4 separate regions of the Homo sapiens genome follow, and all the other regions are linked to region 1. The links are contacts of gene promoters, found by promoter capture Hi-C in human tissues and cell types (Jung and others, 2019). All regions are on one chromosome and are shown on one strand. Each heading gives the region's core, a stretch centred on a gene start or on the middle of the fragment in contact. The rest is flanking DNA. Distances are from core to core; before and after follow the strand shown.

The links. The method cuts DNA at HindIII sites, captures the fragments that hold promoters and counts their contacts. A contact is called where the count stands out against the background at its distance.
Region 2: the fragment with the promoter of PTPN9 here is called in contact with the fragment with the promoter of PPCDC in region 1 in 3 of the 25 tissues and cell types used here (lymphoblastoid cells, mesenchymal stem cells and spleen).
Region 3: the fragment with the promoter of SNX33 here is called in contact with the fragment with the promoter of PPCDC in region 1 in 2 of the 25 tissues and cell types used here (lymphoblastoid cells and small bowel).
Region 4: the fragment with the promoter of SNUPN here is called in contact with the fragment with the promoter of PPCDC in region 1 in 1 of the 25 tissues and cell types used here (small bowel).

The regions. Positions count from the first base shown.
Region 1 is chr15:75,020,513-75,028,170 of GRCh38, forward strand. PPCDC (phosphopantothenoylcysteine decarboxylase) reads left to right here and starts at 3,078. Exons shown (of 6, transcript NM_021823.5): 1 at 3,078-3,114. It overlaps SCAMP5 (secretory carrier membrane protein 5), which reads left to right. Exons shown (of 7, transcript NM_138967.4): 7 at 1-983. The HindIII fragment of the contact is 16,541 bases long and covers 1-7,658 here.
Region 2 is chr15:75,576,071-75,583,728 of GRCh38, forward strand. It overlaps PTPN9 (protein tyrosine phosphatase non-receptor type 9), which reads right to left and starts at 3,245. Exons shown (of 13, transcript NM_002833.4): 1 at 2,644-3,245. The coding sequence starts at 2,706. RefSeq lists silencers at 2,453-2,852, 3,113-3,602 and an enhancer at 2,812-3,410. The HindIII fragment of the contact is 16,601 bases long and covers 693-7,658 here.
Region 3 is chr15:75,644,787-75,651,915 of GRCh38, forward strand. It overlaps SNX33 (sorting nexin 33), which reads left to right and starts at 3,126. Exons shown (of 2, transcript NM_153271.2): 1 at 3,126-5,787. The coding sequence starts at 4,317. RefSeq lists a silencer at 2,745-3,284 and enhancers at 2,910-3,601, 6,299-7,129. The HindIII fragment of the contact is 33,754 bases long and covers 1-7,129 here.
Region 4 is chr15:75,623,635-75,631,011 of GRCh38, forward strand. It overlaps SNUPN (snurportin 1), which reads right to left and starts at 2,091. Exons shown (of 9, transcript NM_005701.4): 1 at 2,032-2,091. RefSeq lists a silencer at 1,570-1,619 and an enhancer at 2,270-2,459. The HindIII fragment of the contact is 13,243 bases long and covers 1-7,377 here.

The DNA.
Region 1 (7,658 bases), core at 1,828-4,327:
CTACAGGCCTTGGTCTTGGCTTGTCCTCACCCAGTCGGAACTCCCTACCACTTTCAGGAGAGTGGTTTTAGGCCCGTGGGGCTGTTCTGTTCCAAGCAGTGTGAGAACATGGCTGGTAGAGGCTCTAGCTGTGTGCGGGGCCTGAAGGGGAGTGGGTTCTCGCCCAAAGAGCATCTGCCCATTTCCCACCTTCCCTTCTCCCACCAGAAGCTTGCCTGAGCTGTTTGGACAAAAATCCAAACCCCACTTGGCTACTCTGGCCTGGCTTCAGCTTGGAACCCAATACCTAGGCTTACAGGCCATCCTGAGCCAGGGGCCTCTGGAAATTCTCTTCCTGATGGTCCTTTAGGTTTGGGCACAAAATATAATTGCCTCTCCCCTCTCCCATTTTCTCTCTTGGGAGCAATGGTCACAGTCCCTGGTACCTGAAAAGGTACCTAGGTCTAGGCCCTTCTTCCCTTTCCCTTCCTCTCCCCTACCCCAGAACTTTGGCTCCCTTTCCCTTCTCTCTCTGGTAGCTCCAGGAGGCCTGTGATCCAGCTCCCTGCCTAGCATCCATGACCTGTTGGATGTTACCTCCAATCAGTTTCCTGTCCTACCTGCCTCTTTGGCTTGGACCTATATGGCCATGCTCTGGCTCTACCCTTGGGAAGCCTGATCCCGGTGTGTGGCCCAGCTTGTTCAGGCCCTGGGATGCTGCATCTCCAGGCAACTATGCACTTTCCCGGGGAGAGAACCAGTATGAGAAGTGGGGGCAGGGCACACATTCATCTTTGTAGGAAGGTCTGGCCTGGGGTCGGGTGAAGGAGGGCCCAGGTCAGTTCTGGGGTCCCAGTGACCTGCTTTGCCATTCTCCTGGTGCCGCTGCTGCTCCCTGTTTCTGGAGCTGGATGTTCCCCAGCTGGCAGTTGAGCTGCCTGAGCCAATGTGTCTGTCTTTGGTAACTGAGTGAACCATAATAAAGGGGAACATTTGGCCCTGTGTGTTCTGCTGTGTCATGTGTCTTCCTGTGGACTTGCGTGGAGCCTCACAGCGGGCTGTGGGGCAGGGGCATGAAAGTATGGGGGGTGGGTGGATCTGTGGTCTGTCATTCCCCGAGACCTAGAGCTATACGACCCTGTGTGGCTCCTTCTCTGAGGCAGCCTTCAGTAGGTGATGAAATTGCCACCTAGGCCCCCTGCCTTGGGAGGAGGAAGTAGAAGAAGCAGGCTGGATCGGCCGGGCGTGGTGGCTCACACCTGTAATCCTAGCACTTTGGGAGGCTGAGGCGGGTGGATCACGAGGTCAGGAGATCGAGACCATCCTGGCTAACACGGTGAAACCCCATCTCTACTAAAAATACAAAAAATTAGGCGGGCGAGGTGGCAGGCACCTGTAGTCCCAGCTACTCGGGAGGCTGAGGCGGGAGAATGGCGTGAACACAGGAGGCGGAGCTTGCAGTGAGCCGAGATCGCACCACTGCACTCCAGCCTGGGCGACACAGCAAGACTCCATCTCAAAAAAAAAAGACACGGCTGGATCCCTGCGTAAGGGATGGTTTGGCCCAGATGGTCCACTGCGGCTAAGGGCGGGGGTAGAGCAGAGGCCCCACCTCAGCTCAGGGCAGGGGACCCGCAGCTGGTTCAGCCACCTCAATGAATACAGAGGTTCCTGGGGCCTGTGAAGGCTAGAAAATGAAGGGGGCAGGGAAGCATGCCAGTGTGTGTTCTTCTGCCGCCTTCCCTTTGCCCATTTGATGCCTTCCACCTGGATCGCTATTGGGATCCTCTATCTAACCTCCTGGCTGTCCTTCAAGATTCATTTCAAGTCACTCCTTCAAGAAGGCTTTCCTGCCTAGAGGTGTTGCTTCCTCATGGAGGATCTTACCCTGTCATTTTCTGTGTCCCTGTTTGTCTCAAGAACAGGGACGCATCTGATTTATCTCTGTATCCTGTGCACCTAAAATAGAAGAGGCTTGGTAAATATTAAGTGCCACGAGCCCTCTTTTACTAAGGACCTGCCAACATGGGCCCCATTCACACTAATACCATGAAGATAGCCCTTTTCTATACTTCGTCATAAAAAAGTAATACACACACCCGGGCAGCAACTTCCACACAAACAACACATGTGCAAGGAGATCACCATTATTTCCAGCAAAATGCTCCCCAGGGCCGAGCGTGGTGGCTCACTCCTGTAGTCCCAGCACTTTGGGAGGCCAAGGTGGGCGGATTGTTTGAGCCTAGGAGTTTGAGACCAGCCTGGGCAATAGAGTGAGAACCCGTCTCTACAAAAAATACAAACATTAGTCTGGCATGATGGTGCACTCCTGTAGTCCTGGCTACTCCATAGGCTGAGATAGGAGGATGGCTTAAGCCCAAAAGGTGGAGGTTGCAGTGAGTGGAGATAGCACCACTGCGCACTCCAGTCTGGGTGACAGAGCCAGACCCTGTCTCAAAAAAAAAAAAAAAAACAAAAAAAAAAACAGCTCCCCAACAAGATAGCAGGCTACAACATGCATGTGATGAAGCTGATTTGAAGCGCTCAGTGAGAGGTATCTGCATCAAGTTGCAGGAGGAGAAGAGAGAAAGGAGAGATAATCATGTTCCTGAGGTCTCAGCCCTGGATCAGGAAATCATTGAAGTATTAACATATCCTGACATTAAGGAAATGCTGATGTTTTTGGACTTTGGCAGTCTGTCCAACCTGCAGGTCACTCAGCCAACAGTGGGGATGAATTTCAAAACGCCACGTGGAAGCTGTTTGAATCTTTTTGAGATACTGTAATATTTTCAATAAACCTGGGACAACAGCAAAAAAAAAAAAAAAAAAAAAAAGGCCCCAAGCAACAAGCAGTGTGTGTGGGGCTGATAGGAGTGAGGAAAGGAGGTCGGACAGTTATGCCAGCCCCTATCGAGAGTCCCAGCAATACAAAGAACAGGGCCAGGGTTTGCTCCAGGATTTCCCCAGTGGACTACAACTCCCGGAAGGCAGAGAAGTGGACTACAGCTCCCAGAAGGCTGCGCGACATACAGCCAGCCCGGTGCTCTCGTGAGGCGTGCCAGTCAGATTCCGCGGGAGAGCGGCAGAGATACCGCGATATTTGGGAGCGGCCCCGAGACGCGCCTGGCGCGGGTGAGCAGTGGAAGGGGGCTGGGAAGCTGGGTTCTCGCGGCGGCGCGGGAGGGGAGGTTCGGGGAGCTGTGTCCGCGAGCGTGGGTCCACGGCTGTCTGTGTGTGTCCTTATTTTCCCCTGTGTGCCCATGAAGCTCTGTTTGCGACTGTGCGTGGGTAGGCGGCCGTCCATCTGTGCGACCTCACTTTCCCGGCTGTACGGGTGGGGCCGCCTGGAGCAGGAGGGACCCCCGAGCCCTGAGTGGAGGGTTTGCATCTGTACCCGTCCAGCCCGACTTTGTGCTGCTCTGCGATTATTTGTCCAGTGTCGTTTAATCTAGTTTAAATGATGGCCGTGTCAGCTCCTCACACTGAACGCTTACCCGGGCTGCCCAAAGTACAAAGTGTATTTAAAAAGTTGGTAAAATTAAAAAAGGAAAGCCATGGGATGTTGGAAGTAGCCCTAGGCCTGCCAAAAAGTGCTGAGTGCTATTTAAAAATTAGGCCAAATCTTGTCAGAAAAGAACTTCCTGCTGTCCTTGAAGTATTTGGAAGCAGGTGCTAGATGGTGAGCAGGAGAGGTTGCCAAGTTGGGGAAGTGGTGGTTGTCCTGGAGCAGGGGTTTCCACATCTCTCACAGTGGCTGGGAAGTAGCAATTCGCAGTCACTGCCTTTCTAGTAGCCCACGTGTGTGAGTGTGTGTGTTAGATACATTTATCCCTCAGTATCCGCAGGGGATTGCTGTATACTTTTTTTTTTTGAGACAAGGTCTCATTCTGTGACCCAGGCTGGAGTGCAGTGGCAGGAACATGGCTCACTGCAGCCTCGACCTCCTGGGCTCAAGGGATCCTCCTGCCTCAGCCTCCTGTGTAGCTGGAACCACAGGCATAAACAACCATACCCGGCTAATTTTTATTTTATTTCATTTTTGTAGAGACAGGGTCTCACCATGTTGCCCAGGCTGGTCTCAAACTCCTGGCTCAAGCTATCCTCCTTCCTTGGCCTCTCAAAATGCTGGGATTACAGGTGTGAGCCACCACATCACCCTCCTGTATACTCTTTTTTCTTTTCTTTTTTTTTTTTTGAGTCAGGGTCTCACTCTTGTCTCCCAGGCTGGAGTGTAGTGGTGCAATCATAGCTCACTGCATCTTCGAACTCCCTGGGCTCAGATAATCCTCCCACCTCAGCCTCCCAGGTAGCTGGGACTGCAGGCACGTGCCACCACGCCCTCCATATAATTTAAATAATCTCTAGATTACTTATAAAACCTGATACAGTGTAAATGCTATGTAAATAGCTACACACTTTTTTTTTTTTGTGGTACTATTATTATATTTTGAAATGGTCTCTCTCTGTCACCCAGGCTGGAGTGCAGTGGCACAAACATGGCTCACTGCAGCCTTCTAGGCTCAAGCGATCCTCCTGCCTCAGCCTCCCAAGTAGTTGAGACCACAGGCATGTGCCACCACACCTCACTAACTTTTAAATTTTTTGTATGGGGTCTTGCTATGTTACCCAGGCTGGTCTCGAGTACCTGGGTTTGCTCAATCCTCCCACCTTGCCCTCTTAAATTGCTGGGATTACAGGTGTAAGCTGGAGCAGAAGCCTGGGCAGCCGGTAGTGAGGGGCTTTGATGTTAGGCTAAAGGATTCAGGCTCATAATGGATCTTGGATCCCTGCCTACCCACCACCCACTTCCCTTGTTTGGTTCTGCTTTGTCTTAGGCTCAGTTCTCATCCTTCCTGTATTGAGCTTGAACGTATACCCTGTCTGGCCTTGCTTTCCTTGCTCTGTCTTTAGTCTGGTTCTGTGCCAGCTCCACCTTTGCCCATATAGGGACTGGCAGGTATCCCTGAAACCTAAAACTCTGCCCTGAATTAAACTCATCAGAGGAGACTTAAACATCACAAGCTGAGGCTCTTTGCTCTGTCTGTCCCTGTCTTTCTGGAGGATAGAGAAGCTGCCATTTTTCTGGCTGTGGCTTACCTGCTTGGCTAGTGCCCTGGGATCTTGAGGCTCAGTAATCAAAGCGTGTAGCCCTATAACCTGCCCACTTGCCAACTCTTTTTGCTGCTCAGGAGTTCCTGTGAATTCAGCAGAGCCCGGGGAAGTCAGGTACTACAGCTACCTGTGCAAATAGGTGACTCCAACAGGTTCTGGTTACAGTAATAGACTTACTGGTTTGGAATTTGATCCTCTTTGCAAGCAAATGAAGGAATCCTGCCAGCCATCACCCTTCCTGGAATTCTCAGGTTGAACTGATTGGACCTCGCCTCCAAATGTTGGTTAAATGATCCACTTTCTATTCTTCAAGTATATTAAGCACACACATACACACACACACCCTCTTTTTTAGGAAGGTAGGTAGGTTTGATCCTTAGCACAGCTTTGCTAAGCAGGCTAAGTACTGTATTTCGGACTATAGTGCCTGCTGTGGGGAAGCAGTTGAAGTCACTAATACAGATTCCTGCCCCAAGTTTAACTGACTGCTTTCTGTAACCTGTTTCCTAGGAATGAGATCAGCTTGATGTGGAGGAGGTTCAGGGGCCTCAGAGATAAAATTTGGCTTCTGGTTTTGCAGGAATCTACCTATCCTAGCACCAGTTGGCTAGGGTGGGACAGGGTCAGGGTTTGCGATCTGGCAGGTAGGTTTCCCTGGAGAATAAAGAATGTGCCTCCATCACCTACCAATGATGTGTTCTGGGAAGAAGCTGGCTGGTAGCCCTTCTGTACCTTGTCAGATTCTAACAGGGCTCCCCACTCCCTGGGGTAAACTCAGTTCTCCAACTCTGGCCAAGCATTGCCCTGGTTGGGGCCCTGCAGTGGAGCAGACATTGAGATTACTGGCAAATCAAACTTTGGGTGATCTTGCCCTAGGGAACCAGCCTGTGCTTAACCCCTGCTGAGAAGTGGGATAATGCAGCCAAACATGATCCTCAGCCCACGTGGGTTGTGCTCAAGTGCTGAAGGCAAATCCTGGGCAGAGAGGCTAGAGAGCCAAGGGGCCTGTGAGTGAAGAGGAGATAGGCCCCTGTGGATGCTCAGCCATGGAGGTAGCCATTGGACAACTCACCAGCGCTGCTTCCTGGGCAGCTGCCTGGGTTTCCCTTGCCATGCTGATTCTTTTTTGAGTGCATCTTCTAGGACCTTCTGTCTTGGAAGGAGAGCCCCTTACTGCTCTCTTTCATGTATTGACTCAAAGTTTCTGCTGGAAGGAGCTTCAGAGATCATCTGGTCCTACCTCTGCATTTTTCAGATGAAGGGACAGGTCCAGGGAGGGAATGACCCTGGACCAGGGTCACTCCAGGTCAGGAGCACACCATGGTCAGGGCCCAGGGCTTCTGCTTCACAGGCTAGGTATCTGTCTTCTGCTCACACTGCCTTGGAGGGTATAGTTATTCATTCAGCACCTGTTCAGGACTGCCGGCTAGTGGACTGCTGGTTGGCAATTAGACCCGGTCACACATTCAGGGAGCTTGCTGGTGGAGGGAGAGGCAAGGAAACTGATGTGTTAATTGAGTCTGTGATCACCAAAAAGGTGCATCCCAGGGAAGGACTGATCTCAAATAATTTCAGACAGGTGTCATTCCTGTCTTCTCAAACTCAACCTACAGATTCCCCAGAGGCAGCTACTGTGTTTTCCACAATTCCTTTGCATGGTGTTCTTTGTAATCGGTCCTCAGTGATGGTTGCTGATGAAGCACGTTCTGCTGGCCCAACCCGCCACGTGTAGGTTTTGGTGTCCATCAGCCATATTATCATGAGTGCACACTTCTAGCAACGTCTGAGAGCCAGAGGAAGAAGCAAACCAGCTAATCTCCTGGGGTGGCCTGCATCCCCTTTATGCTGGTTTCTTCCTGGGCTTTGATTTGTACGGTGGTGCCCATCTTGATTAACAGGGACAGGGACAGAGAGGCAAATCTCTTGGCTCCCTGGAGCACCCAAACCTCCCTGTTGCCCAGGGTTCCACCTCATGAGCATCTTTGGAACCCATCCCTTCCTGCCGCTTCCTTTCACCAGTCAGCCCAGTCCACCGCAGCAGCTCCTCTCGCCCTCCAGTCTCTCCACTAACAGGGTCCCTTTGACACTGTCACCAGGTGCCAGCACCGTCTTTCTAAAACCAAAACTCCTCACCCTGGCCCTCGCTGCCCACGGCATTCTGGCCTCACCCTGACTTTCAGTCTCACTTTCTGCCCCTCTACCACCCCCCATCACAGTCCGGCCTCACTAGTAAGCCACTCCCTGTTCCCCAACCTGCCACCCTCCTCAGGACCTTCACCTTGGCAAGATTGTTCCTTCCTTTGAAGTGATTTCTTCCTGTCTCTGAAAAACTAACTCATCCTTCAGGACTCAACCCCAATGTCATTTTTTCTGGGATGCAATCTCTGACTTCTAGAGATGGTCACCCTGAGCAGCCACGCACCTGGTACAGCCCTTCCCCACAGCACTGCATCATTCCCTTGTGACTGGCCCATGTGTGGGGAAGGTGTCTCACTTTCTTATCAAACTGTGTGCTCCCTGAAGCCAGGACTGCTGATCCCTTCCGCTGCCTCAGCCTCTGGCCT
Region 2 (7,658 bases), core at 1,995-4,494, 560 kb after region 1:
AATACAAAACTTAGCTGGGCATGGTGGCACGCACGCCTGAAGTCACAGCTACTTGGGAGGCTGAGGCAGGAGAATCGCTTGAATCAGGGAGGCAGAGTTTGCAGTGAGCCGAGATCACAACGCTACACTTCAGCCTGGCAACAGAGCAAGACTCAGTTAAAAAACAAAAGGGTACTTCTGGCTGTGTGCAGTGGCTCACACCTGTGATCCCAACACTTTGGGAGGCCAAGGCGGGTGGATCACCTGAGGCCAGGAGTATGATGAGACTAGCCTGGCCAACACGGTGAAACCCCATCTCTACTAAAAATACAAAAATTAGCTGGGCATGGTGGGTACCTGTAATCCCAGATACTCAGGAGGCTGAGGCAGGAGAATCGCTTGAACCCGGCAGATGGAGGTTGCAGTGAGCCGAGATCACGCCATTGTACTCCAGTCTGGGCAACAAAACCCAAACTCCGGCCAGGCGCAGTAACTCACGACTGTAATCCCAGCACTTTTGGAGGACGAGGCGGGCAGATCATGAGGTCAGGAGTTCAAGACCAGCCTGGCCAACATGGTGAAACCCCGCGTCTACTAAAAATACAAAAATTAGCTGGGCATGGTGGCAGGCGCCTGTAATCCCAGCTGCTCGGGAGGCTGAGGCAGGAGAATCGTTTGAACCCTGGAGGCAGAGGTTGCAGTGAGCCAAGATCAGGCCACTGCACTCCAGCCTAGATGACAGGGCGAGGCTCTGTCTCAAAAAAACAAACAAACAAACAAAAAATCAAAACTCCATCTCAAAAAAAAAGAGAGTACTCTTATGTGATATTAAACTAAAATATGGTAACATTAGGCATTACCATAATTAGAACTATACTGCTTTTGTTTCAATATTTTGAAATGCTTGTAAAAAAATAATATTTTGTAGAAAAAAGAGATAAGATTTTAAAAACACACACACACACAATCTCTTGACTTTAATAAACATTTTGCCGTTTCCATCCTAGTCCTTGTTAATGCCCATCACATTCAATTCAGGGTAAAAGATAAGGTTTTTACTAGTTAAACACATCTGTATATATGTGTATGCACTATGTACAAAGTAAAGCCAATACCATGTCAATACTATCAATACTTTAATATTTACTTTTCCTGGTTTTAGTTTTCAAATTTGCAACGGATGCTATTTGCATAGAATACTGATGGCTTTAAGTCTTAAAAACAGAAATCTGACTGACCCAAGGAAAAGGATGAAAGAAAGAGATTTTGTCCCTTTAAAATCAGCCAACACATCCTATCTTAGTACTGAAGTACTTCCCAATTCTGGCAGAATGGGCTCCTTGGCCACCTGCTTGCACTAGGGTCTGACTAGCATTTTATTAACATCCAACTGCAGTTACCAGGACATTCATTACCACTGCTTGTACAAAGCAGAATTCTTTTTAAATTTTTTTCCCATACAGATTTCATCACCAGGTGTCAAAAGACAAAACCGTGGCCTGAGGCCAAATAGAAAAATGTCATCTCCACAAATAAGGAGAAAAGACAAGGACTTTAAAAAATCAGGTCAACAAGCCCATTAGCCAATAATAGTTTGTAAAACTGGACTGTCTTCACACTAGAGGCTGTGCTAGCAAATGTGGTCCTTGGAAACAAGAGCTGTAGAGCTTGAAATGGGTTGCCAGCATGGTTTGCCTTTTTCTTTTTTCATGTTTATTTTTATTTTTTTTATTTATAACATGGAATCAGACTATGACTATAATCGAGCATAGCTATGGCGGGGTATGGGCAGTGCCAAGGAAGAGACAGCGAAAAGCCCGTAGGGTTCCCAGTCTAAGCTAGCAGACCTTCCCATCTTCCTCAGGAGTGGTCCCTGTCTCCGCAGCTGGAATGTGCGGGAGGGAAAGTTACAAGGGCCCCCAAAATGAGACAGCAAACCACTTCCTTCTGAAAACTAAAGGTCATAGGCTTTTAAGGAACAATAGAGCTCAATGTAAGCTTCAGAAAGATGGAGACAGTCAGATGAGACGAGGGTAGGGAAGCGCGGGTGAGGAGATGCGCCCCGTCTGGGATAGCTGAATAGGGGGGTCAAGGCCAGGGACTTTAGGAACACGAGAAGGGCTGGATCTTCCATAACCTGCCCAAGTGGGCCTGAGAAACCTAAGAGGCTCCTCTGAAAATCTAGGGCATCTATGCATCCAATACTCTCAGCCCTCTCCTCGGGAAGGGAGATAATCCCCACAGGAAGCACCCCCCAAACTGGGGCTTTTCCTGCCCTTCAAAAGCCACAAACCCTCACGGAAAACATTTACAAGGGAGTGGAAGGGCCGGGGGCAAGCAGCGGTTCTGCAAATCTCGGGAAGAAGGCCCCTGGATCCAAGGAACTTTGCCCCTGGAATAGGGGGTGGGGTGCGGAGGGCACCGTCTGAGGCTGGTAAGCCTCGGCGAAAGAAGCGGCGGGAACGGGAGTAGGGTCCCGTGGGTCCCCCGACGAGGGGGTGGCGGCCTGGGGCGCGGTCGCCGGTGAGGGAGGCCCGCGAGCCGGGCACGGGAGCGGGGGGCTGCGGCCCCGTGGCTGCAAAGAGCCGGCACTCGGGAGGCAGAGGCCGGCGTAGGCCTCGGGGGCCCGGACACACCCAACGCGGCGGCCTCGGGCCCGCTTACCTGCTCCTCCTCCGGGGTCAGCTCCGGCGCCATGTCGGGCCGGGGCGCGGTCGCGGGCTCCATCCCCCCGCCACCGCCGCCGGGCGGACAAAACTCGCTCGCGAGCGCGGGAGCCCGGCGCGCTCGGCCTCCGCTTCCGCGTCCCCGCGCCTCAGCAGCCCGGGGCCGGCTCGCGCATAGTGTGGCCGGCAGGGCCCGGCGCCTGCAGCGGCCGCAAACGCCGCTTCTGCTTCCTTAAGAAAAATCTCTCCGAACTGCCGCTCTCTTCCGGGAGGAAATCCTTTTTTATATTATTCGCTCCGTTCCTCACACTCCCCCTTATCTCCTGGGGAAGAAAAAGTGCAGGCGAAGAGCTAACAGCCACTCGGGATTTAAAAGGAAATAGGAAATCAGGAACTTTTAGAGCCGGGAGCGAAGGGTCGGCGGAAATTTCCCGAAGGCCGCCGACCCCCTCGGCGCCCCGCTTCCTCGGCCGCGCTCCCGCTCCTCCACAGCGCCACAGAGCTCGGGGCCGCCCAGCCGGGCCGTCCTCGCGGACGCTGGCCCTGCGACCTGCGCGGCTGCCTCAGCCAGGCTCCTCGCGGGCGGCCGCAGCGAAAGGGAGGGAGTGGAGAGGGAGCGAGGGAAACGCGCCCCCCTCCTGACTCACGGCCAACGCTGCGGCCGCCCCGCGGCCGCCCGAGCCCCCCGCGGCTCCATTGAGAAACTGAGCGTCTCATTCACAAGCTGGCGGCGAGGAGGGCCCGGCGGAGCGAGGACGCAGTCCGGGAGGGGGAGACAGAGAGGAGCCCGGGCGGGGGAGGGGACCGGGAGGGGGAGGGGACCCGGGCGGGGAGGGGACCCTAGCTGGACGGAAGGCAACTCGACTGCGGGAGGGAGAAAAAGGAAGAAAAGAGTATTTCGTGAGGCTCAGATCCTCGGAGGAGGAGGAGAATACGTTCGTTTGCAAATTATCTGCTGACTGGCACCTCTCCTGGGGTTAACTTGCCGCTGCCACCTACGCGTGAGAAACCCACAATCCTCAACTATTTGTCGCTTGCAGCCTGAAAGACCCTGGAAAGGTTGCCTGCCAGGCCAGGATGCTTAGGTGGAAGGAATCGCACCTGCCTCCCTCTCTCTCCCTCCTTACTGGCTGCACCCTGTAATTCATCTCCAGTGTCGCTAATTTTAATCCCCCATAGAAACGACATCAGACTCCGAACATCATTCAGGAATGACGCGGCCTTTGCAGACCTTTGATTTTCACTAGGGCAAGTGCAGCAAAGGGTTCAGGATTAGGGGTACAGTCTTGGAGTCATTTGGGGAGGAATGGGGCATAGAGAAGGCAAGGCTGGGTCTGGTACGTTGTTGCATTATTCCAAGCCAAAGATAAATATTCCAAAGGGACCCAAAGTCCACAACTAGTTCCAAGGCTGAAGCCCTGGAGCCAGTCCTGAGGGACCCAAAGGAGGGGCCTTCAGACAACAGGAAGGTGCTGTGAGTTGTGATGCTCCTATGATTTTTTTTTTATTTTTTTTTTTGAGACGGAGTCTCTGTGTCGCCCAGGCTGGAGTGCAGTGGCGCGATCTCGGCTCACTGCAACCTCCACCTCCCGGGGTCAAGCGATTCTCCTGCCTCAGCCTCCTGGGTAGCTGGGATTACAGGTGCGAGCCACCACGCCCGGCTAATTTTTGTATTTTTAGTAGAGACGGGGTTTCACCATGTTGGTCAGGCTGGTCTCGAACTCCTGACCTTGTGATCCGCCCGCCTCGGTCTTCCAAAGTGCTGGGATTACAGGCAGGCGTGAGCCACCGCGCGCCTGGCTTTTTTGTTTTTCTTTTTTTGAGACGGAGTCTCACTCTGTCACCCAGGCTGGAGTGCAGTGGCGCGATCTCGGCTCACTGCAAGCTCCCCCTCCCAGGTTCACGCCATTCTCCTGCCTCAGGCTCCCAAGTAGCTGGGACTACAGGCACCCGCCACCGCGCCCGGCTAATTTTTATTTTTATTTTTTTTATTTTTTTGTATTTTTAGTAGAGACGGGCTTTCACCATGTTAGCCAGGATGGTCTCAATCTCCTGACCTCGTGATCCGCCCACCTCGGCCTCCCAAAGTTGTTGTTGTTGTTGTTGTTGTTTTAACACAGGGTCTCACTTTGTTGCCCAGGCTGGAGTGCAGTGGCGTGATCACAGCTCACTGCAGCTTCAAAGTCCTGGGCTCAAGCAATCCTCCCGCCTCAGCCTCCTGAGTAGGTGGGACTACAGGTGCACACCACTGCACCTGGCTAATTTTTTTTTTTTTTTTTTTGGTAGAGATAGGGGTCTTACTATGTTGCCCAGGCTGGTCTCAAACTCCTGGTAAACTGCCTTTGCAAAATTATAACTGATGATTTTATGACAGTGAAAGAAATCAGACCTAACTGACTCTATCTTGTTTCTAACCCTTAAGCTGTCCTTGTTCATTCCTGGGCATAGGCCGAACTAACTTTGGGAAGGAATTCAGTTCATGGTTTGACTCTGAAACAAAATTGATAATAGCCCTTTCCCGAAAAGACCCCCTTCTTCCCTGGGGTCCAGTCTGCCTTTGCAGGACTAACAGATTAAGCTACAAGATTAGAAATTACAATTTAGGGGTCATGCAGCCATGGGCTCCAAGAGTCTAAACCTCCCCAAACTGCTCCTGGGGATAACATCACTATTGTAAAACCTAAGATCAGTGCTTGAGATATTTTGCAGACCCTGCACCCAGTGCATCAGCTGATACCATCCAGACTGGTAATCTGGCCCAAATAGGTCTGCCATCCCAACCAGGAACAGAAGACAGCAAGAAAAACTCATTTCAACTCCCTATGATCCAATCTCAAACCTGACCAATCAGCACTCTCCACTTCCTAAGCCCCTACCCACCAAATTATCTTTAAAAACTCTGATCCCTTAATGCTCCAGGGAGACTGATTTCAGTAATAATAAAGCTCCAGGCCGGGCATGGTGACTCACGCCTGTAATCCCAGCACTTTGGGAGGCTGAGGCAGGCGGATCATGAGGTTAAGAGATCGAGACCATCCTGGCCAACATGGTGAAACCCCGTCTCTAGTAAAAATACAAAAATTAGCTGGGCATGGTGGCGCGTACCTGTCGTCCCAGCTACTCGGGAGTCTGAGGCAGGAGAAGCGCTTGAACCCGGGAGGTGGAGGTTGCAGTGAGCCAAGATCGCATCACTGCACTCCAGCCTGGCGAAACAGCGAGACGCTGAATCAAAATAATAATAATAATAATAATAATAAAACTCCACTCTCCTGCACAGACGGCTCTGTGTGAATTACTCTTTTGCCATTGCAATTCCCCTGTCTTGATATATCCGCTGTGTAAGCAGCAGGCAAGGTGATCCCATTGGGCAGTTACACTGGGCTCAGGCGATCTTCCTGCCTCAGCCTCCCAAAGTGCTGGGATTACAGGTGTGAGCCACCGTGCCCAGCCTTCTAGGATTTTTGTTTTTGTTTGAGATGGAGTTTCGCTCTTGTTGCCCAGGCTGGAGTGCAATGGCACGATCTCAGCTCACTGCAACCTCCACTTCCCAGGTTCAAGCAATTCTCCTGCCTCAGCCTCCCTAGTAGCTGGGATTACAGGTGTCTGCCACCATGCCTAGCTAATTTTTCGTATTTTTAGTAGAGATGGGGTTTCACTGTGTTGGCCAGGCTGGTCTCAAACTCCTGACCTCAGGCAATCCACCCGCCTCAGCCTGCCAAAGTGTTGGCATTACAGGCATGAGCCACCATGCCCGGCTCCTTCTAGGATTTTAAAAACAATCCCTGACCTCAACTAATTTCTGCATTAATGCAATAGGAACTTCAGGCTGCCCTTGGTAAGAATCAGAGACGATATCCTTGGTATTTGAATCTTTATCTCAGCTAGGATATTTTCTCCTTTGCATCAATACAGCTGACTGGAGGTTGACTTCATCACTCCTTTAGTTTCAGTATTGTAACCAGTCTGGAATACTTTTTTTTTTTTTTTTTTTTTTTTTTTTTTTTGAGTGGAGGTCTTGCTCTGTTTCCCAGGCTGGAGTGCAATGGCGTGATCTCGGCTCACTGTGACCTCCACCTCCTGGGTTCAAGCAATTCTCCTGCCTCAGCCTCCTGAGTAGGTGAGATTACAGGCGTCCACCAGCACACCCTGCTAATTTTTGTATTTTTAGTAGAGACAGGGTTTCACCATGTTAGCCAGGCTGGTCTCGAACTCCTGACCTCACGCAATCCGCCCACCTCAGCCTCCCAAAGTGCTGGTATTACAGGCGTGAACTACTGCATCCAGCCTGCTTTCTTTTTATTGAAGTGTAATATACAGAAAAAGTACAAATATAAGTGTACTGCTTGATGAATTTTTTTATTTTATTTTTTGAGACAGGGTCTCACTCTGTTGCCCAGGATAGAGTGCAACAGCACAATCCTGGCTCACTGCAACCTCTACTTCCTGGCTCAAGCGATCCTCCAGCCTCAGCCTCCCAAATAGCTGGGACTATAGGTGCGTGCCACCAGGCCTGGCCCATTTTTATATTTTTTGTAGAGATGGGGTTTTGCCACATTGCCCAGGCTGGTCTCAAACTCCTGAGCTCAAAGCAATCCACCCACCTCAGCGTCCCAAAGTGCTAGGATTACAGGCGTAAGCCACTGCACCCGGCCAGATGAATTTTCATAAACTGAACACACTCGTGTCTGTGCCCAATGCACAGATCAACAAATAGAATATTCTGAACTTGCCAAAGCCTCGCCTTTTGCCCATCCCCCACCCCACAGTCAGTTACTACTCTGCTGAAGGGTAACCACTATCTTGCCCGTTTTTTTTTTTTTTTTTTTTTTGAGACAGGGTCTCTCGCTGTGTCACCCAGGCTGGAGTGTAATGGCACGATCTGGGCTCACTGCCACCTCTGCCTCCCGGGTTCAAGTGATTCTCCTGCCTCAGCCTTCAGAGTAGCTGGGATTACAGGCATGCACTACCATGCCCATATAATTTTTGTGTTTTTTTTAGTAGAGACGGGTTTTC
Region 3 (7,129 bases), core at 1,876-4,375, 620 kb after region 1:
AAGTTGGCTGGATGTGGTGGCGGGTGCCTGTAGTTCCAGCTACTTGGGAGGCTGAGGTGGGGAGGATCACCTGAGCCCAGGGAGGTTGAAGCTGCAGTGAGCTGTGATTGTGCCACTGTATTCCAGCCTGGGCAACAGAGTGAGACCCTGTCTCAAAAAAAAAAAAAAAAAAAACAGAAAAGAAAAAAAGAATAATGTGAGACTTGACTAAAGGGACTGTTTCCATAGGAATGGGCAGGGTATAGGGAGATCACAAGGGTTAGTGCAGTTTCCTGAGACTGCTAACATGGCCTGTTTCCCCTAGGACTGAAGAAGGTCCCTGGAGGGGAGGGAATGGGAAGATACAGGTTCTGGAAATCTCAGTGAGGCTGAGGAGTGAGTTCCTCCCAAGAACCTGGAAATAAGGGTGGCTCCTGAGAGTTACAAAAAAACCCGTCTAGAACACATGTGGGAGTAAATCCAAAATGGCTGGTCTGTAAATGTGTGACTGAGTGTTTGGGAACCAACTAAAGTCTGTCAAGGGTGGTGGCTGAGGACGCCTCGGGGAGGTTGGGCTGGAGGGGGACCCTATTGGGTGAACAGAAATCCCAATTGTATTAAGTAAACTAATAAAGGTAAAGCGTTTACTGTAGTGTCCATCACTCAGCAAGCACTAAGGAAGTAGATGCTTTTTTTTGCTTTTTTTTTTTTTTTGTGAGACAGCGTCTCGATCTGTCCCCCAGGCTGGAGTATAATGACATATACAATGGCACCATCTTGGCTCACTGCAGCCTCTCACTCCTGGCCACCTCACCTGGCTGATGCTATCTTTTTTTTTTTTTTTTTGAGATTGGAGTCTTGCTCTATCACCAGGCTAGAGTGCAGTGGCACAATCTCGGCTCACTGCAACCTCTGCCTCCTGGGTTCAAGCAATTCTTCTACCTCAGCCTCCTGAGTAGCTGGGATTACAGGCATGCGCCATCACGCCCAGCTAATTTTTTGTATTTTTAGTAGAGATGGGGTTTCGCCATGTTGGCCAAGCTGGTCTCGAACTCCTGAGCTCAAGTAATCCACCTGCCTTGGCCTCCCAAAGTGCTGGGATTACAGGTGTGAGCCACTGCACCCAGCCCTGATGCTATTGTTAAACTCAGTTTGGAGAAAGGCTATGTGGACAGAAGATAGATCACAGGGAAGGGGGGGGTCCTAAAAGCACGTGGGGAAAACGTATATTCTGTCTTAGAGATGCTAGGACGAACTGTCTTTAGAATGAAGGCTGCCCCATGACAGGAAGCAAGGTTTTAAGGTTACTTGACTGAGAGACTCCTCATACCCTTTCCCCTCTTGGGGGTTCCAGACTCACTGAGCTAACTTTCTGGTAACTGGGCTTCCCAAGGGGTAGCCCAAACTGCCTTGATCTATTGATGCAGAAATTCAGTTCTGCTTGACAGTTTTATTTCTCTGTGCAAATTGATACCTAGCCTTCTGGGGTTTGTACATAGGCCTTTATTCTGGTCAAATGCCAGACCTGCGAAGGGAGTCGGATCCACTCACTGAACCAGTGAAACTGGGTTTTGGAGCCAGAGGTCTGGGAACCATGTCCCTCAAAACAGCCAAAGGTATCCATCTTTAGCAGAACTACCTTGTACCAGTTAATCTGCAATAAGTGACTAGGGAGAGAATGAAGGGAAGATCTAGCTAGACAGGGTAGACAAGACTCCAGGGTATAGCCAGGAAAGGGAGTCCTCCTGAAGCCTTTGCCTCATCTTAGGCACTTCCTCCTTCAGGAAGCTTTCCTTGATCCTTGCTCTACCCAGGCTGGGGTAGGTACCCTCATGTGCACTTTTCATGGCACTAACTAGTCACACTGGGCAGGGAGCATTTGTCTACTTGTCACAACATATCTGAGCTTTTGGAAAATAAGGATAATGTCTTATTTGTCTTTGTAGCTCAGGGGCCTGGTGCAGAGTAGGTACTCAGTTAATGTTTCTTGAGTGCATGACTTGGCTGAATGAATGACTGAGACAGAATGGATTGATTAAAGACAAGAGAGGGTGGACTGTAAGCCCCCCAGGATAGAAACCCCGACTGCCTTGTGGTGTACTACTCCCCAGTGCCCAGCACAGTGCCTAGCAGAATCAATGCCCAAAGTGTTCCCGATATGCTGACCGAGGGTCAGATCCCACTTGCCTCTTCTCGAAGATTCTCTACCTGACCACTTCTCTCCTTGCTGCCGCTGGCTAGCACAGAACATCCAGTCCCCGCTGCTGTACTAAGCAACACGGAACCGGGTGGCACCTAGACTTGTTCCCTGTCGCTGCAGATGTAGAGTAGTGTCTTTCCCTCCTTCCAAGCTAGTCGCCCAGGGCAGGGTCGCCCTGTCTGGCTAGGGTGCTGCACCCGCAGCTCTCGGTATCTTAGGTCAGACGCCTGGAACGCGCAGGCCGTTTCTGTTCCTCCGGAAAACAATCTCTGAGCTGCGCCACGACCCGTCCCTGCGGAGCAGGAGTGGGGAATGGGAAGGTGGGAAGGCGAGTCCGCGACTCTGCTCCCCAACCCCAGCTGGCGCGGCGGCTTTCCACGCACCCCCCTCCCCCCACCCCGATCTCCCGATCCTGGCTCTGGCGCGGTGCTCCTTGCAGCCCCACGCTTTGCAAACTTTCGGAGTTTTACTCCATTTGCGTCACGGAAAAGGCAGGAGGATGACGGAGTCCAGGAAGCGAGGCAGCGGCAGCTGGCAAGCTCCCCCGCCGGGCGCTCCAACCACGGGGGCGTGAGGTGTCTCCCGGCGAGGGCGGACAGGCGGAGGGAGAGGAGGGGAGGTGGCGGTCCCAGGGACCAGCCCCGGAGGCTCTCGGGCCCCCTCGTTCCCGGGTCGTTTCCTCCCTCTCGCCTCCCGGACTGAGCGCCAGCGAGCGAGGGCGCTGGCCAGCTGGGAAGCCGCGCGGAGGAGTAGGCGGGGGCTCGGCTGCAGCGCCCCGGGCCCGCGGGAGGGCGGAGCTGGCCGTCCCTGCCCCGCCGGGACGCACGGAAGTGCAGCGGAGTTTGCCCGATTCTCCAGCCTGCTTCCCCCTCCCTCCTCCCTCTCCCCACCCCTCACCTCCCCTTTGGCGATCCCCTCCTTCCTCAGGACGCCACCTCCCGGAATCGCCTTTTTGTTTTGGAGCTGCCTTCTCGCTGGCGGAGCGGAGGGTCTGCGAGCGCCGGGGAAGGCAGGCTGGGGGCGCAGCCCGCCCCCCACTGGCCGGGCCCCGCAGGGCGGAGAGGAGGACGGACGGACAGACGGCTGGCCGCGCCATCTGCTCGCCGGAGCTCACTCTCCAAACTCCAAACTGTTGAGTGTGTGCGTGCACGCGAGGGTGGTGATCGGGGGTCGTAAGTCCCGGGTGAGGAACCGGTTTCTGCTGGGGTTACCTTTGGACGGGGTTCCTGGGATTCAGAGCAGGGTCAGCGTCAGGCTCAGAAACTGCTGAGGAATTAGGCAAACAAAAGAGACCACTCAGCGAGTGGCTAGAAGTCGCCCGACAGCCTCGTCGCGCCCCCTCCTTCCTCCGGGGTTGGGGCTGGCCACTTCTGGGGCGGGGAGAGGGCGCCCGAGCCGGCGGGGGCTCCGGCTGCGCAGCCGGGGTCGAAGAGTTGGCGGCCTGTTGTGTAAGCCTCAGTCCTTGTTTTCCCGGCCTGGCTCGTTGTGAAGCCGGACACATCCACCCTTGGACTCGATTCAGGCGGCTGCTGCTTTTCTCCTTGCCCCTCTTGGATTTTCCGGATTTTTGAAAACCCAGTGGCCCAGGAGCAAGAGGAGGAAGGAGGAAGGGGCAGATCTGCAGAGGAATGTGAGAGCCTCCCAAAGCGAGAGCCGCCAAAAGAATCTGGGAGCCAGAGGGACAGCCGAGCCCTGCCCGGGTTTCTGGAATGGTGGTTTCAGAGTGAGTCTCTTCTATTTTAGAACGTTGTTCCAGTGGAAAGTGTCGAATTTTTCCCCTCGCAGGGCAGATTTCTCCAGGTCACTTGACTTTTCTTCTGGGAGTAGGAGTTAGGAGAGATTCCCCTCTAACCCCCCAGAGGCTGCTAAGGGAGGAGGAGACTGTGGACATGAGCCCTCCCTGCTCACAAGCATATGCCCGGAGACCTGATAGGGCAGTTTCTGGGCCATGGACATTGCTTTGAAGAGGGGGAGACTGGACAGCATCTGTGGGTGCTGAGACCCCACCTTAGGACCTGAGAGATTGAACTGTGTAAGCGCCATTCAGCTGCGAGTGCATTCTTGGACTGCCTTGTGAGCATCCCCGGTCTGGGCAGGACCCTCTCCTTCCCATCTTTCTATACCACCCAGCCCAGCCATGGCACTGAAAGGCCGAGCCCTCTATGACTTTCACAGTGAGAACAAGGAGGAAATCAGCATCCAGCAGGATGAGGACCTGGTCATCTTTAGCGAGACCTCACTGGATGGCTGGCTGCAGGGCCAGAACAGCCGTGGGGAGACAGGGCTCTTTCCTGCCTCTTATGTGGAGATCGTCCGTTCTGGCATCAGCACCAACCATGCTGACTACTCCAGCAGCCCTGCAGGCTCTCCCGGAGCCCAGGTGAGCTTGTACAACAGCCCCAGTGTGGCCAGCCCAGCTAGGAGTGGTGGGGGCAGTGGCTTCCTCTCAAACCAGGGTAGCTTTGAGGAGGATGATGATGATGACTGGGATGACTGGGACGACGGATGCACAGTGGTGGAGGAGCCACGGGCTGGTGGGCTGGGCACCAACGGGCACCCTCCCCTCAACCTCTCCTACCCTGGTGCCTACCCCAGCCAGCACATGGCCTTCCGGCCCAAGCCACCACTGGAGCGGCAGGACAGCCTGGCATCTGCCAAGCGAGGCAGTGTGGTGGGCCGTAACCTCAACCGTTTCTCATGCTTTGTGCGTTCTGGAGTGGAGGCCTTCATCCTGGGTGATGTGCCCATGATGGCCAAGATCGCTGAGACATACTCCATTGAAATGGGCCCTCGTGGCCCCCAGTGGAAGGCCAATCCCCACCCATTTGCCTGCTCTGTGGAGGACCCCACAAAACAGACCAAATTCAAGGGCATCAAAAGCTACATCTCCTACAAGCTCACACCCACCCATGCTGCCTCACCCGTCTACCGGCGCTACAAACACTTTGACTGGCTCTATAACCGCCTGCTACACAAGTTCACTGTCATCTCGGTGCCCCACCTGCCTGAGAAGCAGGCCACTGGCCGCTTCGAGGAGGACTTCATCGAAAAGCGGAAGCGGAGACTCATCCTCTGGATGGACCACATGACCAGCCACCCTGTGCTCTCCCAGTACGAAGGCTTCCAGCATTTCCTCAGCTGCCTGGATGACAAGCAGTGGAAGATGGGCAAACGCCGGGCGGAGAAGGATGAGATGGTGGGTGCCAGCTTCCTGCTCACCTTCCAGATCCCCACCGAGCACCAGGACTTGCAGGACGTGGAAGATCGCGTGGACACTTTCAAGGCCTTCAGTAAGAAGATGGACGACAGCGTCCTGCAGCTCAGCACTGTGGCATCAGAGCTGGTGCGTAAACATGTGGGGGGCTTCCGCAAGGAATTCCAGAAGCTGGGCAGTGCCTTCCAGGCCATCAGTCATTCCTTCCAGATGGACCCCCCCTTTTGCTCTGAGGCCCTCAACAGTGCCATTTCTCACACGGGCCGTACCTATGAAGCCATCGGGGAGATGTTTGCTGAGCAGCCCAAGAATGACCTCTTCCAGATGCTGGACACACTGTCTCTCTACCAGGGCCTGCTCTCCAACTTCCCTGACATCATCCATCTACAAAAAGGTAAGGCCCAGTGCAGGCAGGAAACTCGTCCTGAGTCTGGCTCTCTGCTGGGCCCTGGGGAGATGGGGATGGCCTGGATAGAATGGAGCAACTTGTCTTTATTTCTCTGTCTCAATCATTCATTTAACAAATGTGTTGGGCTGGGCACGGTGGCTTACGCTTGTAATCTCAGCACTTTGGGAGGTTGAAGTAGGAGGATCACTTGGGCCCAGGAGGTTGAGACTACAGTGAGCCCGATTGTGCCACTGCACTCCAGCCTGGGTGACAGAGTGAGACCCTGTCTCTAAAACAAACAAACAAACAAACAAACAAACAAATGTGTTGAATATCAACTCTGTGTCTGTGGCAAATGTGCTTCTAGGTGCAGGGATATTGTTGTGCACAGGCCCGGTCTCTGTCCTCATGGAGCTTGATATTTACCTTCTTGTCAGTTCATTCATTTTCTCTGTTTGCATCTCGTTTACCCATCATGCATGGTGTCATGCTGGGTTCTGAGAACACATAGATGACCAGGCCCCAGGCCTTGCCCTTGAGGAGCCGGTAGGCCCTTGGGAGACACAGACCCAACCCAGATAACAAGAGCTCAGAGTGGGGGCCTGTCTTGTGCTCCTTGCAAGTTAACCTCCCCACCTTTGCAGCTTTGGAAGCTACTCTCACCACTGTGTATTCTCTTTATGAGCGTCTTGTCTGTGTGCAGGAAGATCCCTGTCCCCATTTTGCAGATGAAGGAGCTAGTGTCCACAGAAGAGTGGTTGCACAGCCTGTGGCCCGGCTGGGACTGTCCCTTCCTCCTGCCACCTCCCCAAGGACACGTCCATGTTGGCCACTTCCCAAGCCTAGCCATGTTTTCAGTTCTCATGACCCCCTCTGTGGGGGAGGGACAGGATGGGCCTCTGCCTGTTACTGCTGGGGCTGTCCATGAACTGCCGGGGAAATGACTCATCCTGGGTCACACAGGGGCACTCTGGCTGGGCCAGGGGTGCAGAATCAGGGGTCCAGGGCACTGTCCACATGGCCTATCCAACTCCTGCTTCCCAAGCCTGGCTTCTCTTCTTGCCTGAGGAGAGAGCCAGTGGCTGCCCCAGCAGGTGCCTGAGTCCTGGGCACAGCTGGGAGGGCAGATGTCAGGAGAGAGGTGTGATCCTCCCTGGGGCTGCTTGGTAACTCGTCTGCAGGGCGTGGAGCTGGCTCCCTGGCCCTTGGGCCCTGAGGTTAGACCTGGCTTGGTGGGGAGTTTGACTCTGGGTGGGGCCAGGGGGCAGACCTCTGCACTGAGCCTGGGGAACAGGAAACATGTCACCCACCACCACCAGGGAGGGCCTGGGGTAAGCTGGCCTTGCTT
Region 4 (7,377 bases), core at 841-3,340, 600 kb after region 1:
AGGTTTCATTATGTTGGCGTGGCTGGTCTGAAACTCCTGACCTGAAGTGATCTGCCTGCCTCAGCCTCCCAAAGTGCTGGAATTACAAGCATGAGCCACTGCACCCGGCTTGAGGTGTGCCTTAATATCTTTGCAATGCAACCAAGGGTTGCCATTCCTGAGTGACTGAGGCCTCATGATGAGTGCTTGGGATCCATATGGTATGTTATTCAAATCATCCATAATGGTATGTATGCTATTGTCTCTACTTTTCTGTACTTTTGTGTAAGTTTGAAAGCTTTCATGATAAAATTTTTTTTTTTTTTTTTTTTGAGACGGAGTCTCGCTCTGTCGCCCAGGCTGGAGTGCAGTGGCGGGATCTCGGCTCACTGCAAGCTCCGCCTCCCGGGTTCACGCCATTCTCCTGCCTCAGCCTCCCAAGTAGCTGGGACTACAGGCGCCCGCCACTACGCCCGGCTAATTTTTTGTATTTTCAGTAGAGACGGGGTTTCACCGTTTTAGCCGGGATGGTCTCGATCTCCTGACCTCGTGATCCGCCCGCCTCGGCCTCCCAAAGTGCTGGGATTACAGGCGTGAGCCACCGCGCCCGGCCGATAAAAATTTTTAAAAAGTCATTATGTTTTCAGTTCATCACCAAAGTAATGACCAAATCCAAAGCACCTTTATTAGGCCTATCATGCACTATCTTGGTGTGGGCTCCCGCTCTGCCAAGAACCACACAACCTTTGAAACTGATGTCCTGGGCCTGGCGCGGTGGCTCACGCCTGTAATCCCAGCACTTTGGGAGGTTGAAGCGGGCAGATCACCTGAGGTTAGGAGATCGAGACCATCCTGGCTAACACAGTGAAACCCCGTCTCTACTAAAAAAAAAAAAAAAAATACAAAAAAATTAGCCAGGCATGGTGACGGGCGCCTGTAGTCCCAGATGCTCGGGAGGCTGAGGCAGGAGAATGGCTTGAACCCGTAAGGCGGAGCTTGCAGTGAGTCGAGATCGTGCCACTGCACTCCAGCCTGGACTTCGTCTCAAAAAGAAAAAAAAAAGAAAAACTGATGTCCTGGATACTGGGGCGGTTCCTTTACCTTCCTTCAAGGCTGTTCTTGGCGGGTTCCTGCTGTTTCGTTTTGTTTTTTCTTTGTTGTTGTTGTTTTTTTTTTGAGACAGAGTTTCGCTCTTGTTGCCCAGGCTGGAGTGCAGTGGCATGATCTCGGCTCACTGCAACCTCCATCTCCCGGATTCAAGCGATTCTCCTGCCTCAGCCTCCCGAGTAGCTGGGATTACAGGCACGCGCCACAACGCCCGGCTAATTTTTTTTGTATTTTTAGTACAGATGGGGTTTCACCATGTTGGTCAGGCTGGTCTCAAACTCCTGACCTCAGGTGATCCGCCCACCTCGGCCTCCCAAAGTGCTGGGATTACAGGCGTGAGCCACTGCGCCCCGCCGGGCTCCTGCTGTTTCAACCCATTCCTTGGATGGTGCTGCCTCCAAGTGTTCGGACCTTAGCCCCAGGTGGTCTTAGCACCAGTAACCCCCGCTCCAACTCCCTAAAGTCCGACCCGCCCCAGGCCCCGCCCACGCTCCACCCTCCCTCCCTGTCTAGCCCCCTCCCCCATCCCCTTCCCCCTCCTTCGCGTCTCCCCATCCGGCGCCCCCGCCTCGCGTCCCCTGGGTCCGCATCCTGGCAGCCTCCGCGTTTCCCTACCCCTGCTACCGGGCTCCAGCCCCGGGGACGCTATCTGCTTCACTCGGCCGTGCGCGCCGCCACCGCCCCGCACTGCCTTTTTCTAGGCATGGGGTCATCTAGGCCATGCATGATTCGCCCCTGCCCCACAGAAGTCCCTGAGGGGTCCTGGCCGGACAGCACGGAATAGAAGAACGGAAACTCTCCCAAAAGGAGTCCCAGGCCTGGCTCTATCCCTCCAGATGACGTCCCAGGAGGCCAGAGTGCAGGGCCGGCCAGAGGGAGTCACAGTCCGGCACCGAGAGGCAACTCGGCAGCTGGCGGGGCCCGGGCTCGAACCCAGGGACTCACCCAAACCGAGGTGACCGTCGCACGCGCCGCCGCCACCGGGGCCGACGAATCACCTGCCCTGGGAAGCTAGGTCCGCCCTCCCCCCGCCCCCAGCTGCTGCCTCACCGCTGGGCCCACAGGCCTCGCGCCCTGAGTTTCCGGCTCCTCCCTCCTTTGCGAACGCTGGGAGTTCCGTTGCCTACAGGCCGTTATTTCCGCCTTCAACGGCTGGGGCATTTCCCATCGGCTAGGGAGGGGGTCTTCTTGCATTTGCTTTGCACTGTCCGGGACTCTTCCTGCTAGATGACTTGACCAGGCCGAGGCCTCCCTCCTGAACACAAGCTCTTCGGGGCTCCTTTCGCCAATGGGAGGAGGCTGATCTTGTGGCCGGGCATTCAACGCCCTGGGCCCTGCCGCCTCCCGCAGATCTTCCCGGGCCTTAGGGCTTCACCTGGAGTCCCCTTCCCCTCTTGGGCCCGTGCTCTTAAACGGGCAGTGCCAATTGCCTGGATTACTCCAACTAACCCCTCACACCCAAGTTTCAGACACAGACCTTCGCTCCCCCACTTGCCCTTAACAAAAGCAGATACATACCTCGATTACTGCCTGTTTGCTGCTTTTGCGAGCTTCTTTCCCACTCGGCTGCGGGCTGAGCAATGGTAGGGACCTGGCTTGATTCCTATTTAAGTAGCCAGAGTCCAGCACAAGGGATGGCGCTCAGTAGACCCTGCGTGAAGGAATGATTAAATTGGTGCAAAAGACTAGGGTAAGCGGCAGAGATTTAGGAGATTAAGTCCTGCCAGGGTGTAGCCTCTGCAGGGCGGGAAGGCTGAGATTACAATTTTAAAACTGAATATTTATTGAATGCTTACATTCAGCCAATCCCTGCTTCACACCCATCATCTCATTTAATTTTTTTCCTTTTTTTTCTTTTTTAAGCCAGTAGATATTAACTCTTAATCATGACATGAGGAAGTAGACACACTGAAGCTCAGAGAGGTTAAGTAATTTGGCCAAAGTAACACAGCTTTCAAGGAAAATGTTTGAATTTGCTGAAAGTTTGATGTATAGGGAAGTTGACTACCGATGTATGACAGAAGCAAAGTATCCACCTTTGGCACATTTTGCGTCCACGGAATGCTAAAATTTGGACTTGTGTATTTTATGCACATTACACCATACATTCAGACTAAAAAGAATAGGAAATTAGGCTGATGAAAGGCTATTACTAGACTGGTAAAAAGGGTTCTGGGGCCCTGGAAGGCCAATTTTTCTGGACGTGAGATTTTTTTTTATTTTTTTGAGATGGAGTCTCGCTCTGTCGCCCAGGCTCTGGAGTGCAGTGGCGCAATCTCCGCTCACTGCAAGCTCCGCCTCCCGGGTTCACGCCATTCTCCTGCCTCAGCCTACTGAGTAGCTGGGACTACAGGCGCCTGCCACCATGCCCGGCTAATTTTTTTGTATTTTTAGTAGAGACGGGGTTTCACTGTGTTAGCCAGGATGGTCTCGATCTCCTGACCTCATGATCTGCCCGCCTCGGCCTCCCAAAGTGCTGGGATTAAAGGCGTGAGCCACCGCACCCGGCCTGGACCTGAGATTTTATTTAGGTGGCTCTTTCAGTGGCCAGGCTGAGCAAAGCTGTCCACTAGGGTATTTATTTGGTGCATCCACAAATAAAAGCTCATGTCTGCCTGATTTATGAGACTGACAAAAAAGAGAAGTCCAGGGCCTGACTTCACTAGGGAATTTTGACACCCAGGATATTAGGTATTTTGTGTCCAAACAACCATCCCTTACAACCACGGAGGTCACATCTAATGGTCGGGCTGCATAGAAAAGAATAAAGACCTTAAACATTTTAGGAAAATAGACTGAGACTGAGAAAGAAGTTCCCAAATTCATGCCTGGAGGTCCAGGAGAAATGTTCTAGTTCCTCACTCACACCTAGCTGAATAACTTCCCATATCACTGAAAAAACAAAACAAAACCAGGTCAGGCACTGTGGCTCATGCCTGTAATCCCACCACTTTGAGAGGCCAAGGTGGAAGTAGCCCATGAGTTTGAGACCAGCCTGGGCAACATGACAAAAACCCATCTCCACAAAAAAAAAATTAGCTAGGTGTAGTGGTATGAGTCATGATCCCAACTACTTGGAAGGCTGAGGTGGGAGGATCACTTGAGCCCAGGAAGTCATGGCTGCAGTGAGCTGTGATCCTGCCACTGCACTCAGCCTGGAGACTCTGTCTCAAAACAAACAAAAACCAGAGCACCTGGCCCAGGGGTTCATTTAGAGCCAGTGGGTGTTTCAGAAGGGGCTACCTCTGGAATCTCAGCTTCAGAATGTTGGCCACATGCACACACTGTGCTTTATGTCTTTAAATCAATTAATTTAAGAAAAAAGCCTGACTACATTTATTTAAAAGGGCAACATTGGCCAGGTGTGGTGGCTCATGCCTGTAATCCTAGCACTTTGGGAGGCCAAGGCGGGCAGATCACAAGGTCAAGAGATCCAGACCATCCTGGCCAACATGGTGAAACCCCATCTCTACTAAAAATACAAAAATTATCTGGGCATGGTGGCGCATGCCTGTAGTCCCAGCTGCTCGGGAGGCTGAGGCAGGAGAATCACTTGAACCTGGGAGGCGGAGGTTGCAGTGAGCCGAGATCGCGCTACTGCACTCCAGCCTGGTGTCAGAGCAAGACTCTGTCTCAAAAAAAAAAAAAAAAAGGGCAACATCATAGCATTACCTTACATCAATCACTTCCCACTTTATTAGAAGGTATCTATAAAATAAATACATTGCTCATGCCTATAATCCTAGCACTTTGGGAGGCTGAGGCAGACAGATCACCTGAGGTCAGGAGTTCGAGACCAGCCTGACCAACATGGAGAAACCCTGTCTCTACTAAAAATACAAAATTAGCTGGGCATGGTGGTGCATGCCTGTAATCCCAGCTACTCGGGAGGCTGAGGCAAGAGAATTGCTTGAACCCAGGAAGCGGTGGTTGCAGTGAGCCGAGATCGCGCCATTGCACTCCAGCCTGGGCAACAAGAGCGAAACTCCATCTCAAAAATAAGTAAATAAATAAATACGTGAAAATAATGTTATAGGCTGGTGCAAAAGTAATTGCAGTTTTTGGCCGGGCGCAGTGACTCACGCCTGTAATCCCAGCACTTTGGGAGGCCGAGGCGGGCAAATCACCTGAGGTCGGGAGTTTGAGACCAGCCTGACCAACATGGAGAAACCCCGTCTCTACTAAAAATATAAAATTAGCCGGGCGTGGTGGCACATGCCTGTAATCTCAGGTACTCAGGAGGCTGAGGCAGGAGAATCGCTTGAACCCAGGAGGCAGAGGTTGTGGTGAGCCAAGATGGCGCCATTGCACTCTAGCCTGGGCAACAAGAGTGAAACTACTTCTCAAAAAAAAAAAAAAAGTAATTGCAGTTTTTGCCATTAAAATTAATGGCACCAACCTAATATAATCTTGCTAGATAGATATGGATGTCTGCAGAAAGCTGTAAGTCTGGGGACTTTGTAAAAATCAGAGATTAGCAAGTGTTGAAGTGATAAGGAGTCACACTAACAGAATTTTTCTTTGACGTAATCAGAAAAATTCAAAGAGGACAGAAGAGGGAAGAACCACTTTCTCACTCTATTATTCAATGTCATTAAAGTGGAATCTGTGTACCCCTTAAAATCTTCTGGTTGCCCATGGGCAGGAGAATCCTTACTTAGAAAAGAGAAGGTTGAGAGCAGGAAGGTGTCCAGCCCAGAGGGGAAATGGAGGGAGGTAAGATCACAGAGGCTGCTGGGACACAGGGGCAGGTAAGGGCCTCAGGCCACGGTGGGGAGTTTGGATTTTACCTCCACTGCTGAAGAGGGTTTATTTTTTTGGGGGGTGCGTGGGGGTTGTTTTTGTTTTTGAGACATATCTTGCTCTGTCGCCCAGGCCGGAGTGCAGTGGTGCGATCTCTGCTCACTCCAACCTCCGTCTCCCAGGTTCAAGCAATCCTGCCTCAGCCTCCCAAGTAGCTGGGATTACAGGCATGCGCCACCATGCCTGGCTAATTTTTATATTTTTAGTAGACACGGGGTTTCACCATGTTGGCCAGGCTGGTCTCGAATTCCTGACCTCAGGTGATCCGCCCACCTTGGCCTCCCAAAGTGCTGGGATTACAGGTGTGAGCCACCATGCCTGTCTGCAGATGAGGGTTTTTAAACAGTTATGAGATAGCAGATTCCAGCTTTAGTGAGCTCCCGCTGGCTACTTGGTAGACAACTGAATGTAGGCAACCAAGTGTGGAGGCGTGGAAGCCAGTGAGCAGACCTTGCATGAAAGTATGTCGGGGGATGTGATAGGATTAAGATATAATCTAAAAATAAAACCTGGACAGTTTGTTACTCTTTTTATTGAGATGGAGTCTTACTCTGTTGCTCAGGCTAGAGTGCAATGGTTTGATCACAACTCACTGCAGCCTCAATCACCTGGGCTCAAGTGATCCTTCCACCTCAGCCTCTCAAGTAGCTGGAACTACAGGTGCATGCCACCACACCCAGCTAATTTATTTATTTATCTTATTTATTTATTTATTTGAGATGGAGTTTCGCCCTTGTTGCCCAGGCTGGAGTGCAATGGTGCTATCTCGGCTCACCGCAACCTCCACCTCCCGGGTTCAAGCAATTCTCCTGCCGCCGGGCGCAGTGGCTCACGCCTGTAATCCCAGCACTTTGGGAGGCCGAGGCGAGTGGATCACAAGGTCAGGAGATCGAGACCATCCCGGCTAACACGGTGAAACCCCATCTCTACTAGAAATACAAAAAATTAGCTGGGCGTGGTGGCACGCGCCTGTAGTCCCAGCTACTCGGGAGGCTGAGGCAGGAGAATGGCGTGAACCTGGGAGGCGGAGCTTGCAGTGAGCCGAGATCGCACCACTGCACTCCAGCTTGGGCGACAGAGCGAGACGACTCTGTCTCAAAAAAAAAAAAAAGCAATTCTCCTGCCTTAGCCTCCCAAGTAGCTGGGATTACAGGCATGAGCCACCATGCCTGGCTAATTTTGTATTTTTCAGTAGAGACGGGATTTCTCCACATTGGTCAGGCTGGTCTTGAACTCCTGACCTCAGGTGATCCGCCTACCTCTGCCTCCCAAAGTGCTGGGATTACAGGCCTGAGCCACCACGCCTGGCCTAATTTATTTTTTTAGAGACGAGGTTTAGCTATATTGCCCAAGCTGGTTTTGAAAAACTGGGCTCAAGAGATCTTCCTGCCTTGGCTTCTCAAAGTGCTGGGATTACAGGTGTAAGCCACCATGCCTGGCCAGTTTATTACTCATAAAATAGGGGAAATTAGCACGAATTATACATGC